Regions from separate parts of the Homo sapiens genome. Here regions 2 and 3 are each linked to region 1. The links are contacts of gene promoters, found by promoter capture Hi-C in blood cells and fetal thymus (Javierre and others, 2016). All regions are on one chromosome and are shown on one strand. The core of a region is centred on a gene start or on the middle of the fragment in contact, and the rest is flanking DNA. Distances in the headings are between cores, read along the strand shown. Region 1 holds the start of CTDSP2-AS1 (CTDSP2 antisense RNA 1). Region 2 overlaps AGAP2 (ArfGAP with GTPase domain, ankyrin repeat and PH domain 2). Region 3 has its middle 21 kb from the start of GIHCG.

Region 1 (3,318 bases), core at 303-2,802:
ACTGCTTTCTCCAGCTCACGTTTGTATCAACCTAAAGCAGGCCTACATACCTGGAAGGGAAAGAAGCAGTGGATTCTTCCTAGGCTTCAACTATATCTAAGCATTCCAGGAGTCAAGGGCACAGCACTAAGGCAGGAACTTGAAACACTCACTGAGAGGTTGTCTGTGTGTAGCCCCTCCCACAGGGGCTTGTTATACACCTCCTTAGGGGGAAGGAGGGGTAACTCCAGGTAGGCAAGTGTGGTTTCCAATCCCTCACAATGATACCTTTGCTCTGGCTGGTGCTACATAGGGCAGGGTCTCCTGCTGAGGCAGGGGCAGGATCCAGTCCTTTGAGTTTTCTTGGATGGCATCTCAGGCTTGTCCCTGCTGCCCTGTGGGCTATTAGATCACTTCCTGACATCCCTCAAGAGTCCTCTGGAGTGGGGCTTGCAGGGCTGAGCCTGCAGCTGACTTGTCTATGAGGAAACGCCTCCTCTGTCTCTGGTCCAGGATCTGCTACTTATGGAGGCCCACCCCAACCCAGCACGTTTTTAAAGTACGTTGGAGCTGCCCAGGAGGGTGTTTTGGCAATACCTCCTTTAGAGGCTGATTCTGAAATCAGCGTGCTTTAGAACTGCCAGAAATCCCCTGCTCCCAAAACTGAGTCCTCTTACCTCTCTAGCTGAGGTCAGAGAACAGATTGCTGAAGGGGCAGAGACAAGAAAGTGTGTGACCTGTGACCCTCGCCCCACAGGTGGCATTAAGGACTCAGGTCTGAAAGAAGAGACAGCCATATAGGGAGCTCTCCTGCCCAGGGAAAGGGAACTAATGGAGACACTGGCTTAGGTAGAGCTGCCCCAGTTGCTGGTGCAGAGAGGGCACCAGCATACAACATGCTGGTATGGGCCAAACAGCATGGCTAAAACTGCTTTTTAATTTTTTAAATTTTATTTATTTATTTATTTATTTTGAGACAGAGTTTTGCTCTGTCCCCCAGGCTGGAGTGCAATGGTGTGATCTCGGCTCACTGCAACCTCCACCTCTTGGATTCAAGTGATTCTCGTGCCTCAGCCTCCGGAGTAGCTGGGATTACAGGAGCTCACTACCATACCCTGCTAATTTTTGCATTTTTAGTAAAGATGGGGTTTCACCATATTGGTCATGCTGGTCTCGAACTTCTGACCTTAAGTGATCCCCACTGCCTTTGCCCCCCAAAGTGTTAAAACTGCTTTTTTCAAAAAATGCCCATGCAGTTAGATACACAGCTACTTTTTGGAACTTCGGGAGCCGGTGCTAAGCTGGGTCCGGCCCTGCCTTGCTTGTTAGCTGTAGAGAACAGTGTCAGTGGCCAGGCATGAAAGCAGTACACCCTCCCCATTGTTTGCAGTCTTTTGTGTGTGGGGGCTGTCTAGGCATCTCACCCTCTTTTGTTCCCTGCCGACTCACCTGCTGGTCCCAGGAGCTCTTCCGTCCACCTGGCACTTTAGGGCATGTCCATAGCCAAGGAACAGATGCCCCTTGCAGAGGACCTGGGAGGACTTCTCTCCATGGGGGAGTCCCAGTCAAATGTGTCTTGGCTGCAGGGTTCAGGCAGCCGTCCAAGAAGGGCCGGAAATGCTCCAAATACTCTCCTTCCTCCAATAGCTGAGAGGAAGGAGGCCCCTCAGAGGGGCCATTTTATAGTGATAGCCAGGCTAAGGCTAAGTCCTTTGCTGTGGGGGATGGGAGGTGGTGGGGAAGGAAGTACTTCTGGGGATGAACCAAAAAAGAAAGCAACTTTCTACCTGAATGGGCTTGTTAAAATCTGATTGTCTCAGAGGTTACCTTCTGCTGAATCGCAGGCAGATGTGTGAGGAGTTCCTTTGCTGGGACACAAAGCTGTGTTGTTGACAAAAGTGGTATCTGGACCTGACTTTCAGGAGAAGATTAAAAACAGTGTTGCCCTGGTCACTCTGGTCTTCGTTTGTGTGTATGTGTGCACGTGTTCACGTGTTTGTACATGTACACTTTTTTTTTTTAAAGACAAAATCTCACTCTGTCACCCAGGCTGGAGTGCAGTGGTGCAATCACGGCTTACCGCAGCCTCAAACTCCTGGGCTCCGGTGATTCTCCCACTTCAGCCTGCCAAGCTGGGACTGCAGGTGCACCTGGCTAATTTTTTTTTGGTAGAACAGGATTTTGCCATGTTGCTCAGGCTGGTCTTGAACTCCTGAGCTGCAGTGATCCAACCGGCCCAGCTTCCCAAAGTGCTGGGATTACAGGCTTGAGCCACCTACCCCGGCCCATGCATAGGGGCAAATAGTGTCCTTACCTGGTACTTCTTGAGAGTAGTGGGGATGAATACCAGGGGAGACAGCGATTTTTGTCTCAAGTGAAACAGTCTTACTTGCTTTTGTTTTTCACAGAATACCCAGTCAGGGAGTTTGTGAGCTGGAAAACAAATTTTGTTGTGGACTTGGGAGAAGGTATAGGGGCTATTTTGACTTTCTGAAACCTGCTCATGATCAGAGCTCTCAGGCACCTTTCCCTCATCTTCTTGGGCTTCATCCACGTGATGATGGTGGGAGGGCTCCTGGTCTGTTGCTGGCCTCCTGGAATGAGGCCCATGATGTTGCCATTTAGTGGTCATCTCCCCTTGGATAATTAATTAAAACAAGCGCAGCATTTAGCTTTAGAGTTAGCACAGTGCCTTACTCTCTAACTTCGTTTATCCTTTCAGTCCTGAGTGAGGGCTTGCTGTTATCCCAGTTTATGGATGAGGAAACTAAGGCTCCAAAAGGCTGTGTGGCTGAGTCAGTAACTGGCAGAGCCTGGACCCCAGCCCTGATGATCCTCAGTGGGGGCATACTCCTCACATCCCCTCTTCTCCTCACACCCCGCCTCAGTAGGAAGACTCGCAGCAGTGAGCTGGATGGCTGGCCTGGTTTCCCTGTCTTCAGCCACCAGCTCACTTTCTTCTTAAGCCAGAGCTGCTTCCCTCATTGGGTCTGTGCTAGTCCTCTCAGACATCTAGCCCCAAACCAAATGTTTGGGGCAGAGAAAGCAGAAGCACATCTGCATCTGGGCAGAAGAGGAGGGCTGGGTGTCCGCAGAGGGTAGCAGGGAATGAAGGAGGGAGAGCAGCTCGTAGTTGGGCTACATGGCATCCGCTGGAGTCCTGCCCTCCCTGGTTGGGGAAACCATGTGCAATGAATTTCCTACGGGGGCCAGGCATGGTGGCTCATGCCTGTAATCCTAGCACTTTGAGAGGATGAGGCAGGAGGATTGCTTGAGCCCAGGAGTTCAAGGCCAGCCTGGGCAACATAGTGAGACCTCATCCCTTTTTTTTTTTTGAGA
Region 2 (3,318 bases), core at 478-2,977, 100 kb after region 1:
TTTTGGAGGGCGTTTGTGGGGAGGGTGTGGGAGATGGAGGCATAGGAAAATCCTAGCTCTTTCCCTTGGGCTGTGGGGAGGGGTCCAGGGCTACAGTGCCGTTGACCTTGAAGAAGGGGAGGGAAACCCCTCACCTCAGTTTCTCTCCTGTGGAATGGAGGTTGGGGAAGACACACTCTCTTCTGTGTTTCAGCACCTCCTCCCAGGGTCTGCCCTGGGAACCAGTGGGTTAGGGAGGAGCTCCTCTTCTATTCTTTTTCCAGAGGGAAGAACCTGCCACTGTCAGAGCCCTGGTCTCCCTGTCTGGGGCCAGGACCCGCGTTTGGGGATGTGCTTTAAGGGAGATGCCAACTGAAGTATTTTTGTCTTGCTAGCTCCGTTGCTAAGCAACCACTGAGCGGCAGCAACAGCTGGGGGAGAGTGGCTGGGATGGGAGGCCTGGGGACCACCCTCAAACCTGTCTGTTGCACACACCTCTCCAGTGCAGGCAGGGTTGGGGGGGGGTTGGAAAGCTGCAGAGGGAGGAGGGGTGGCTCAGTGTTGGGGGTCCTTCTGAGCCAGGAGCCTCCCCTCTTACTGCCCTTCTCCCGTTACAGAGGCTGTGATCAATAGCCAGGAATGGACTTTGAGCCGCTCCATTCCTGAACTGCGCCTGGTAGGTAACCCAGTCCCCTTGCCTATAGGGAAGGCTGACCTCCCACCCACTGCACTCTCAGCTCTCTCCCTTCACCTCTCCTTCTCTCTCTCTCTCTCTTTGGGAATAGGGAATCGTTTTCCAGTTCTCCTGAGAGTCTGCCTTCATAGCACCAACATGGGGTTTGCTACAGCCTCCTCACAAGTTTTTCCTATCTAGTCTTTATGCAGCCATCCCCTTTTTCCTGTTTGTTCATGGTCCTCCTCCAGGCTTCTCATTTCTGGTATCTGCCCTTTGGCCTTCATGTTGTACTGCCTAGAATTGGGTAAAGTTTTCCAACTAGTGCCTAGAGCTGTGACATGCTACAAACACACACACACAGAGACACACACACACAACATATCTAGTATGTTTTCTAAACAACCCAACACACAAAAAAGCTGGTACTGAATTGCTGACATTCTTCAGCTCGTGCTCCACTTTGAGCTTGGGATCATTTCTTACCACACTCATGCCCTGATCCTCCCAACTGCTCTGATCCCCCCAGCTGCTCTGATCCTCCCAACTGCTCTCTCTGGAATGACTGTCATCCAGGCCCTGTAGGGTCCTGCTTGGATGACTTATCTCTCTGGGTTTTCTGGAGTGTCCAGACCCATGCATCCTGCCTTCTCTTATATCCCACAATTTCTGCTCCACAACCTTGCCCTCAGGGTGTGCTGGGCGATGCCAGGAGTGGGAAGTCATCGCTCATCCACCGATTCCTGACTGGCTCATACCAGGTGCTGGAGAAGACAGAGAGTGAGTTCTGAAGAGCCATAGTAAGCTAACCATTGGGGTCAGGGATCCAGGAGTGAGATCAATGATTAGGCAGGTGTGGAGACCAGGGGGGAAGGATGAGGCCATAATAGCAAAAGCACTGGGAGCATGGGGAGGTTTGGTGACCTGTCACCTCTGACCTGTTACCCCTTCCAACTCTTCTGGACAGGTGAGCAGTACAAGAAAGAAATGTTGGTGGATGGACAGACACATCTGGTGCTAATCCGAGAGGAAGCTGGGGCACCTGATGCCAAGGTGAGGGTGGAGGTGGTGGGGGACAGGCTGGCTGGGGTCAGCACTGGCCAAAGGAGAGGGCTCTGGTTTCCCAGGTCTTCATCTGGATTGGGTCCAGAGGAGTAGACCTGTCTGACTTTCCATTTGCTCCCTCACTCCCCGCAAGTTCTCAGGCTGGGCAGATGCTGTGATCTTCGTCTTCAGCCTGGAGGATGAGAACAGTTTCCAGGCTGTGAGCCGTCTCCATGGGCAGCTGAGTTCCCTTCGCGGGGAGGGACGAGGAGGCCTGGCCTTGGCACTGGTGGGGACACAAGGTAAGGAGGGGTTAGGAAAGCACTGCTTTCAAGGGAGGCCCTAAGGAGGCTACTGGGATATTGCCCAACATGGGTGAGAACTTGGTAAGGTGTGGAAATGGCCACTTGGATTATAGTACCCTTCTGGAGGGAGCCTGGTCTCCAAATAAGGGAGTCATGAAACCAAACAATAACTTCCCAAGGTCTGAGCAGAGAAAAGGGGATCTCCAGGGAGGAAAGGACAGCTATAGTAGCCATCTCCTTGCCTCTCCTGAAATGTCACCTACCTTGTGTTCTGACACTGCCATTTCCTAGTGCCACCATCCTAGGACACAGAAAATCTCAAGTCCTAGGGTGGATAGGAAACCTTTTCCATCTTCCTTTTTGCGACAGCTGGGTAAGGCTGACACCTTTTAAAGGAACTTATCCAAAAACAAAGTGAAAACACAAAGGAAATGATGATGAAAAGAAGAGAGCAGAAAACCTTTTAGTTCTCAGAGAAGTGACTCAGAGGCTCCCAGACTCTGCCAGGGCCAGGAAATGCTTTTCCAGCACTCCCCTGTGTCGAGCTGGTGGGACTTGGTCTGGATGCCTGTTCTGCTGGTGCCTATCTCCACCTGTTGCTTGCATCCTGGTTTCTTGCTGCAGAGTGGGCAGTCCAGCCATGACCCATGGGCACCCAACCTTTTCCTAGTTCACAAGCTGGTGTCCTCCCACCAGTTCAGGGTTCTATGGATTTGCAGGGCAGGGTGATTGTCGCTCGCGCCTGGGTCTCAGCTATGTAGACCTTGTCAGGAAGCACCACTCAGCAGCTCTGGAGTATTCCTTGAGGACACACACACACACACACACACACACACAGCTCACCCAGCTAGGTGTGTGAACTGGGCCCAGTACTCAGAAAGGGCTTATGTACTCCCATTCCACCTGGTCACAGAAAAGATGATCTCTCACACCCCATCCCCAGTGGACCCAGCCTGAGGGCCCAGTGCAAGGATAAGGGAATTGTGAAAAATCGAACAAGGTGGGGCTCCTTGTTCAATCCTGCCCCTTTCCTGTCCCCTCAGACAGGATCAGTGCTTCCTCCCCTCGGGTGGTGGGAGATGCTCGTGCCAGAGCTCTGTGCGCGGACATGAAACGCTGCAGCTACTATGAGACTTGTGCAACCTATGGGCTCAATGTGGATCGGGTCTTCCAGGAGGGTGAGTGTAGTGATCTCCAGCATATGTGGGAAGCCAGAGCAAGGGGCCTGGGATATTCTCAGTGGTCAGGCATCCAGGCCTCTCTCTGTGAGTGACAGGAAATTAGCCTTTGTGGGAGGGAGGAGAGATCAGGGAGGCC
Region 3 (3,318 bases), core at 583-3,082, 78 kb before region 1:
GGAGGCTGAGGCAAGCAGATCACTTGAGGTAAGGAGTTCGAGACCAGCCTGGACAACATGATGAAACTCGGTCCTACTAAAAATACAAAAATTAACCAGGCATGGTGGCACACGACTGTAATCCCAGCTACTCAGGAGGCTGAGGCAGGAGAATGGCTTGAACTCAGGAGGCGGAGGTTGCAGTGAGCTGAGATCGCACCACTGCACTCCAGCCTGGGCAACAGAGTAAGACTCCATCTCAAAAAGCAACAACAACAAAAAGAAGTAAGATCACTGGGTCAAAGGGTAAACTTATATGTAGTTTTCATAGATGTTGCCAAACTATGGGGATTATGTCATTTTGCATTTAGTACCAGCAATCTATGAGAATGCCTGTTTTTCCATAGCCTACCTGACAAAGGTCACAGTGTTGTGTTTTTGGTTTGTTTTTTTGTGGAGGGAGTGGTTCTTTTTCTTTTGAGACAGGTTCTTGCTCTGTTGCCCAGGCTGGAGTGCAGTGGTGCAATTATAGCTCGCTGCAATGTCAACCTCCATGTCTCAAGCGATCCTCCCATCTCAGCCCCCGAAGTAGGTGGGACTACAGGTATAAGCTACCACACACCAGAATGATATAAAAAAAAAAATTGTAGAGACAGTGTCTTACTATGTTGCCCTGGCTGGTATCAAACTCCTGAGCTCAAGCAATCCGTATGCCTCAGCCTCCCAAAATGCTGGTTTATAGACGTGAGACACTGCACCCAGCCCACAGTGGGTTTTTTTGTTTGTTTGTTTGTTTCTTTCTTTCTTTCTTTCTTGAGACAGAGTCTCGCTCTGTCGCCCAGGCTGGAGTGCAGTGGCACGATCTCGGCTCACTGCAACCTCTGCCTGCCAGGTTCAAGCCATTCTCCTGCTTCAGCCTCCTGAGTAGCTGGGGTTACAGGCACCCACCACCACACCCAGCTAATTTTTGTATTTTTAGTAGAGACGGGGTTTCACCATGTTAGCCAGGCTGGTCTCGAACTCCCAACCTCTTGTGATCAGCCCACCTCAGCCTCCCAAATTGCTGGGATTACAGGTGTAAGCCACTGTGCCCGGCCACAGTGTTTTTTAAACTACTGGTAATACTCACTTTTAAAAAAATACAACTGTAATCATCATGTCTATCTATATATCCTAAAATTGATGCATTTTCCAAAAGAATTTTAGGTAAAGGTCTGTGGAATCATGAGCAGCTTGCATCCATGAGTTTATATTATGTGGATTTAGAACCATGTCGATTCTCTATTTGGAATTTTTCCTTCTTTTTTTTTTTTTTCAACTATACTTTGAAACAGTATGGGACCTAGAAGAAGGCAAGCACCCAGCCCCTATCATGTAGTCAGTCTGGCTGCCACCCCAGCAGTAGGATATAGTGAAAATATTATGCCCTGGGGATAACCACTCAAATAGATACCCACATACCCCTTATGCTTGTCAGTGTCTTGAGACTGGTATTGTGTTGTGTTTGTCTTTCTTGCAAAATGTGTCTGTTTTATTCACATATTTTCATCATGTAAGAAAAAATTTTCACTGTTTTGAAACTCTGACACCAAGGAACAGGGAAAAAGCTAAACCTATGGATGTGAAACTAAACATTATCAAGAACTATGTGCCAGGAGAAGACAGCTAACATCAAAGGTTGCTTGGAACTGACTGAATGCACATTGCAAATCTCAAGAAGCTCAAAGCTGTTGACTGACTAGAGTGGGCACACGCCTTTAACCCTCACTTTGTTCTTACCATCCTCAGAATCCCACGCAGGAAAAGGCCCATCTGTCAATGAGCAATATTGTAGAACCAGCCAGGAGCCACAACTCCTCTTTAAGGGACTCAAGCACCTCACTCATGTCTTCTTCCTCAAAGTCCACCTGCCTGGCTAGCCTTCAAGCCATCGACCTGTGGAGGGTGGAGGAAACCACCCCCACTAACTCCAACCCTGCATCCAACAGCTTTCCCTGCTTATGCCACACCTCAACTTCCTTCCCTTGCTCTTTCTTTCTTACCCTGCACTCCTCCTACCCTTGGCCACTTCACCAATTACCCACTGGTACTTCAACAAGCCCATCTGGGTCCTCTCCTTCCCCAGCCTGATGGAGGCTGCATAGTTATCCTGGAAACAGCACAGGCTTTGGATAAAAACAATACGTTTGACTTTTGGCTCTGCTTTGATGATCTTTATGAGCTTGGGCATGTTATATAGCCCCTCTAAGTCTGTGTCTTCATCTGTTAAATAGAGATAATAAGATTTACCTTGCAGGAATGAAATGATGTATTTTGCAGCAACTTGGATGGAGCTGGAGGTCATTATTCTAAGTGAAGTAACTCAGGAATGGAAAACCAAATATCATAGGTTCTCATAAGTGGGAGCTAGGCTGTGAGGACGCAAAGGCATAAGAAAATTCGTGGGAAGACTTTGGGGACTTGTGGGGAGAAGGTTGGGAGGGGTGAGAGATAAAAGACTATACATTGGGTATGGTGTACACTGCTCAAGTGATGGGTACACTAAAATCTCAGATATCACCACTAAAGAACTTACCCATATAACCAAAAGCCATCTGTACCCCAAAAAAAATTGAAATGAAAATAAAAATTTTTTAAAAGATCTACCTTGCAGAGTTGTTGCAGGATTAATAAAGATGGTTTTAGTGTCTGACATATTAGTAGTGAAATAGGAGAGTTCCCTGACCCCCCTTGCAGGACATGTGACAGGGGTGTGGCTCATCTGTTAGGTCGCTGCCACTGATCAAACCCCTTACAGGATGGGGAGCACACAGATGGACATGTGAAGGAGCCAGGGTGCTGGGCTCCGGCCCCATGGCAGCATCCAGGGTTGGGAGCCTGTGACTCTTGGAACCCAACAGGCATGTGTTACAGTGTGCGCTTTTAGCCTTGCTAGTGTTAACCAGCTCAGTGGACCCTCTGCCTTTTTGCAAGGGCAGAGGGCCAGTGTGGCAGCTTTCTGCATCCTGAGCTCTTGTCCAGTGTCCCGGAAGAATCAGGTCACACATGGACTTGAAGGATGAATGCAGGGGTTTTATTGAATGGTGGAGATGGCGCTCAGAGGCATGGATGGGGAACTGAAAGGGGGATGGGGTGGGAAGATGATCTTCCCCTGGAGTTTGGCCATCCAGCAGCCAATCTGCTCTCCATTCAACCCCAGCCGAACTTCTCTTGGCGTTCAAATGCTCCTTCTCTTCTCTCCTTCTCTGTCATTCATCTGCTCATCTCCTTGTCTGCTTCTGGAGCCTGGCGTTTGGGGTTTATATGGGTACAGGACGGGAGGCGTGGCAGACCAAAAGG

What was found. The method cuts DNA at HindIII sites, captures the fragments that hold promoters and counts their contacts. A CHiCAGO score of 5 or more calls a contact.
Region 2: a fragment that was not itself captured here is called in contact with the fragment with the promoter of CTDSP2-AS1 in region 1 in 3 of 17 cell types (total CD8 T cells, non-activated CD4 T cells and naive CD4 T cells); the score reaches 7.2 in total CD8 T cells.
Region 3: a contact is called between a fragment that was not itself captured here and the fragment with the promoter of CTDSP2-AS1 in region 1, in 16 of 17 cell types (activated CD4 T cells, M2 macrophages, M0 macrophages and 13 more). The highest score is 24.3, in activated CD4 T cells.

What each region holds. Positions count from the first base shown.
Region 1 is chr12:57,835,325-57,838,642 of GRCh38, reverse strand. CTDSP2-AS1 (CTDSP2 antisense RNA 1) reads right to left here and starts at 1,552. Exons shown (of 2, transcript NR_188077.1): 1 at 1,429-1,552. All of the region lies in intron 1 of CTDSP2 (CTD small phosphatase 2), which reads left to right. RefSeq lists enhancers at 213-292, 353-462, 43-663, 1,253-1,322. The HindIII fragment of the contact is 9,495 bases long and covers 1-3,318 here.
Region 2 is chr12:57,732,706-57,736,023 of GRCh38, reverse strand. AGAP2 (ArfGAP with GTPase domain, ankyrin repeat and PH domain 2) reads left to right here. Exons shown (of 19, transcript NM_001122772.3): 2 at 597-655; 3 at 1,345-1,432; 4 at 1,620-1,705; 5 at 1,851-1,998; 6 at 3,045-3,179. Among named protein-coding and RNA genes, the nearest start is that of AGAP2, 4.4 kb to the left of the region's middle. RefSeq lists an enhancer at 1,195-2,394. The HindIII fragment of the contact is 5,376 bases long and covers 1-3,318 here.
Region 3 is chr12:57,913,445-57,916,762 of GRCh38, reverse strand. No RefSeq gene overlaps it. Among named protein-coding and RNA genes, the nearest start is that of GIHCG, 21 kb to the left of the region's middle. The HindIII fragment of the contact is 9,190 bases long and covers 1-3,318 here.